Linked DNA regions of Homo sapiens: region 2 is linked to region 1. The links are contacts of gene promoters, found by promoter capture Hi-C in human tissues and cell types (Jung and others, 2019). All regions are on one chromosome and are shown on one strand. The core of a region is centred on a gene start or on the middle of the fragment in contact, and the rest is flanking DNA. Distances in the headings are between cores, read along the strand shown.

What was found. The method cuts DNA at HindIII sites, captures the fragments that hold promoters and counts their contacts. A contact is called where the count stands out against the background at its distance.
Region 2: a contact is called between a fragment that was not itself captured here and the fragment with the promoter of SGPL1 in region 1, in 2 of the 25 tissues and cell types used here (IMR-90 fibroblasts and mesendoderm cells).

What each region holds. Positions count from the first base shown.
Region 1 is chr10:70,814,623-70,817,284 of GRCh38, forward strand. SGPL1 (sphingosine-1-phosphate lyase 1) reads left to right here and starts at 1,326. Exons shown (of 15, transcript NM_003901.4): 1 at 1,326-1,504; 2 at 2,189-2,258. The coding sequence starts at 2,232. RefSeq lists silencers at 1,122-1,441, 1,462-1,551, 1,632-1,741. The HindIII fragment of the contact is 13,423 bases long and covers 1-2,662 here.
Region 2 is chr10:70,577,630-70,580,291 of GRCh38, forward strand. No RefSeq gene overlaps it. Among named protein-coding and RNA genes, the nearest start is that of PRF1, 24 kb to the right of the region's middle. The HindIII fragment of the contact is 7,004 bases long and covers 1-2,662 here.

The DNA.
Region 1 (2,662 bases), core at 76-2,575:
AAGGCATACCTGAAACCCTAAAGCAACTCTTGATGAGTAGGCATTGGCAGGAGGCCCCAGAACATTTTCTGACCCTCAAACACTGAGAATGCATGTCTGCTGGGGAATAGTAGTGAGGGGGCTAAGGGTATGGGGGTGTTCATGCCTGAGTCAGGGGCTCTGGATGGTAGAAATGTCTGGGAGTTCTGACGGAATGGGGGTGAGGAGGCCTAAAGATAACCTGTTCATAGTCTTTCAGGGCCTTAACCATTATGGCTGGGGAAGTGGGAAGTGCCGATGGGGTATGCAGAGGAGGGCAGCTGTGATAGTACATTTCATCCTGAAAGCACTACATGTGGATAATGACGGTAGTGATGATGCCCTAATTTTAGTGTCATGGCAACATTTTCCAAGGGGATGGAATTGGGTACCCTCATTAGTGTCATTTTTGTTTGAGAGATTTCAAGAGTCTATCTAGGTGTCATTTTAAAATCTATTGAAAAAAAATCTTGAATGCAGGTCACTGACCAGTTGGTTCCATGTAACTGCACTGCCTTCTGCTACCACTAAAGCAATGTTATGACAACCTGGACAAGTCATGGGAAACCTATGTGAGACTTAGTTTTTTCTTTTTCTTTTTGGAGTTGGGGGTCTCACTATGTTGCTCAGGCTGATCTAGAGCTCCTGGGCTCAGACAACCCTCCCGCCTCAGCATCCCCAAGTGCCGGGATTACCGATGTAAGCCACTACACCCAGCTGAGACTTAGTTTTTTCATCTGGAAATGAAGGCGACCTTTGTGATCCCAGTGGGCCCTTGCACTTGTGTATAAGGTGATTCCCAGCACTGCTCATGAAAGTAGTGATGGCAGAGTAGCCTCTGCTCTCCATTTTATTTTTGGGGTGGGGGGGGGCAGTGGTGGAGGGGAGGATGAGGATGATATTTCCATTAAATAAGTTTCCTTGTTGCTTTTCTTCAGGCACCACTGACCTCGATGGAAAAATGAAGTCCCTGGCCCAGGAAAGAGACCCAACTCTGTGGCTGTTTTGGATTAGTTTGTACAATGCCCTGCAGACCTACTCTCTCAGGAGGCTCCAAGTGACCAAATGTGACAAGAAAGTTTTTTGTCCAAGGCAGTTTGGAAGAGAAGTTGGTGACCGTCGGGATACCACAGCCGCCCCAGGACGGCCTGGTTGAGACATTCACTGGAGGGTCTGGGTGCAGCCCGCTGCCTGGCCGGTAGGCGGCGCGCACAGGCCGTGGGGCCCGGGTCTGGGCGTGCGCGCGGCTGGTAGCAGCGGGGCCGCGCACGCCAGGGTCCGGGAGCCGGGCCGGTGCCCCCGGAGCCATTTCCGGGAGGGGCGAGGCCGGCGGCTGCCGGGCCTCCAATCTCGGCGGCGGCGGCGGCAACAGGGGAGCCTGGGTCTCGCGGCCTGCGAGTCCGTCGCGTGCTGAGGGAGACGCAGGAGGTGGAGCCGGCCGGGTGCTCGAGGGAAGGAGACTGGAAGCTGGTTCCGGCGTGAGGAGGTGGAGGGGCCGCCGCGGGCTCCGGGGGGCGGTGAGGGTCGGGACGGAGGCGCCGCGGGGTGAGGAGAGGACAGGGGCCGGGTGGGCCGAGGGCGGGCAGAGGCGGCGGGGCGGCTGCGGCCGGGGCGGGGGCGGGGGCGGGCTGAAGGCGTGGGCACCAGCCGCTGAGGTCCAAGCAAGTGGACGGCGGGCGGGCGCGGGGCCGCGGTGGGGCGGGTCTGGAGCCCACGCCTGCCGCGGGGTAGGCATGGGCGGCCAGGATTTGCTGGTCCTCCGACGGGAGGGGTGACAACGAGAGCGAGGCCGTGCTGATTCTGAAGGGAGTGCGGAGGAGGCAGGACCCTGGTAGCCTCGGCACCTTCAGCCCGGGTTAGGTGGCCTGGGCTGGGCTCCCCACCCCGATCGCGCGCAGACGGGGCGTTTCCCCTAGTTTCCACCTGGGTGGAATGCTTTGTGGGAGTCTGGGTCTGGATTAGTTTCATCAGCTGTGGGAGGGAAACCTAGTTGCAGCAGGATTTTGATTCGCTGGTCTGGGGTGCTAGGGGTGGACTGTGATATCTGGGAATGAAATCTGAGCCTTCAAAGGAGGGAGAGAACCATAACTTGGCTGCTCTGGCGAATCTAGGCGGGCTGGCGAGACAGTTTAAAGCTCTAGAAGTAAACAAACCTGGTTCCCTTTTACAGAGTCTGAAAAAGGGGAGCGCGGAGAGGAGGCTGGAAGAGGAAGATGCCTAGCACAGACCTTCTGATGTTGGTGAGCCTTTTGCAGACATCCTCCTGGTTCCAAGGCATTTGTCTCCGTTTTTTTAGTCCAAAGGATCCCAGTGTGTAGATTTCACCTCTGATGCTTGCTTTTGGTAGCTGAGCGTTTTGCCACCTTTTATTTTGTTTTGTTTTGTTTTGTTTTTTTGGAGACGGAGTCTCACTCTGTTGCCCAGACTGGGGTGCAGTGGCATGATCTCGGCTCACCGCCACCTCTGCCTCCTGGGTTCAAGCGATTCTCCTGCCTCAGCCTCCTGAGTAGCTGGGATTACAGGCGCACGCCACCACGCCCGGCTAATTTTTGTATTTTTAGTAGAGACGGGGTTCTCCATGTTGGCCAGGCTGGCCTTGAACTCCTGACCTGTGGTGATCCACCCGCCTTGGCCTCCCGAAGTG
Region 2 (2,662 bases), core at 43-2,542, 240 kb before region 1:
TCTTTCTCTCTCTCTCTTTTTCTTTCTTTCTGCCTTTCTCCTTTTCTTCTCCCTTTCTCCCTTTCTCTTTCTTTTCTTTTCTTTTTCTTTTTTAAATTCTATGCTGCTTCTGGGTCAGGGTCTTACTTTATCACCCAGGCTAGAGTGCAGTGGTGCAATCATAACTCACTGCACCCTCGACCTCCTAGGCTCAAGTGATTCTCCCACCTCAGCCTCCAGAGCTGGAACTATAGGCATATGCCACCACACTCGGCTAATTTTTGAATTTTCTTTTTTTTGTAGAGATGGGGTCTCACTATGTTGGCCAGGCTTGTCTTGAACTTCTGGGCTCAAGTGATTCTCCCACCTCAGTCTCCCAAAGTGTTGGGATTACAGGGTGAGCCACCACACTTGACCCCTTTCCTATTGATTTGTTAAGATGATAACTTTATCATATATGTTGCATTTATTTTTTAGCTTTAAAATACCATTAGATATACATGCTGTCTTAGAGCCTGTCCTCTCCATTCCTGTGTGTCTCAGTCTATGCTGGAGCTGACCTAGCTTCAGATCAATAACCTTTGCTTATTTTATGATGTCCTTTATTAGATTACTTACTTTGTCAAGCATTATATCTGGTTTCTTTTACAGTCATCATCTCGTTCAACCCTCCAACAATACCACAAGGTGTTATTTTACAGCTAGAGATACCCGTGTCTGATGCCAAATCCTTGCTTGTTTCAGGGCTGGATATGGTAATCCTCTCTGCCATTTTCGATGACAGGTTGAGAGGAGAGAAAGGTAGATCCTGGAAGAGTGCCCAGGCTGGGGTGACTCGGGGAGGAGACTAAGGGGAAAGCATGATGACTTTGAAAGCCCTCCGTCAAATTCTTGTGGTTCTCTGACTTGATGTTATTTAAACCCCTGTGTACTTTCAAGAGGTTCCCCTCTACAGCCACAAGAATGGGAAATGGCTTGTGTTCTCTGAGTCACACTGGTAGATTATCTATGGGCCTTCTGAGTTTCACTTTGCACCCCCTCTTGGCTATTCTTTCCTTTTCCCACATCCGCCCACCTCACCATCAACAAACCTGCACAGTGTCTTTGCCCTTCAAAAGTAATTGTTATTCTTTCTTTGAACTAAATGACGGCATCTAAGCTGAATTAAACACTCATAGCCTTTCACAGTTTATGAAAGTATCCATTTCCCCATTCCTGCCTTAACATTTGAGGTCGCCAATCCTTTTAATTTTTGCCAATCTGATAAGAAAGAAAGTCTTTTATTTTTACCTTAACTCGACTTTTCCAGATTAGTAATGAGGTTGGAACATCCTTTCATATGTTTACTGGCCATTTGAATTTATTCTGTTATGTATATGCCCATTTTTCTGCTAGATTGTCTTTTTTTAATTAACAGGCATAAAATTTTAATATAATTTGTTTTGTGGGTAGGTAGATAGATATACAGTCAGTTCTTTCTCCCAGTTTGTCTCAGGTCTTGTAACGTTTTTAGTGTATTTTTTCATAGAGAAGTTGTTCAATTTATACATGGTGTGTTTTTTGACTTGTGTAAGCAAGCCTTCCCTACCCAAGGTTCTAGATCTCTTTCCTATGTTTTCTTTGAATATTTCTACAGTGTTGTCTTTTATGTTTAATGCTTTAATTCATCTGGAATAAACTTTTGTGAATGACATGAGATAGTGTATTTTTTTTTTCCAAAATGGATATCCAGTTGGCCCACATTTATTATTATTTGTTATTATTATTTTAGAGATGGGATCTTGCTATGTTGCTCAGGCTGGTGTTGACCTCTTGGCCTCAAGCAGTCCTCCTGCCTCAGCCTCCCAAGTAGCTGGGACCACAGGCATGTGCCACTGCACCAGGCTGGCCTACATTATTTATGGAATAGCCACATTTCCCCCTTACTGGAACTATGGTTTTCATCATATGTGAAGTAAGCACTTATACCTGAGTCCATAGAGTAGACACGGGGTTGTTGTTGCTCCTGGCCTCCATTCATCCTTCTGGTAACCATGTCTGATTTTCCCCATCCCCAGCAGGAACAAGAACCAAGGCTTGAGCCAATTTGTGCATCTCATTGTCCTGGCACTGCCATTGGCCCAGGGCTGGCCATGTGACTCAGCCGGCCAATTACACCCAATCAGAGCTTATCCCTGGCATTTTTCTGAGTGACTGGAAGAGTGTTAACTATTCTTGTGGAACTTAAAAGGGAGAGGCCAGACGTGGCTACAGTTGTCACACAGCCACAAGGTGAAAACAAATATGAAAATGAAACCAACACACCAAGGCCAGTGGAATTGAGCTGAGGCAACTGCTGTTGCCCTTTAGCTGCTGTACCCCATCATGTCTAGAGCCAGGTTACCCCTATGCCCACAAAACTTTTAACTGACAACCCAGATCCTTTTGTGCTTAAGTGAGCTGGGTTGGGTTTTCTGTCATTGCAAGGCAGACATATTCTATATGTGTACTCTAGTCTCTCCATTGATTTTTTTCGAGGTCTTCTCAAGTTCTTGTTCTTTCTCCCTTCCTCCTTCTGTCTCCCATCCTCATTCTCTCCTTCTTTCATTCATTCTTTCTTTTTCATTCTTCTATACTTCTGGAGTGTTCCAGTGTACTTTCATTTCCAAATGGATTTTAGAACCAGCATATGGACTTCTATTTA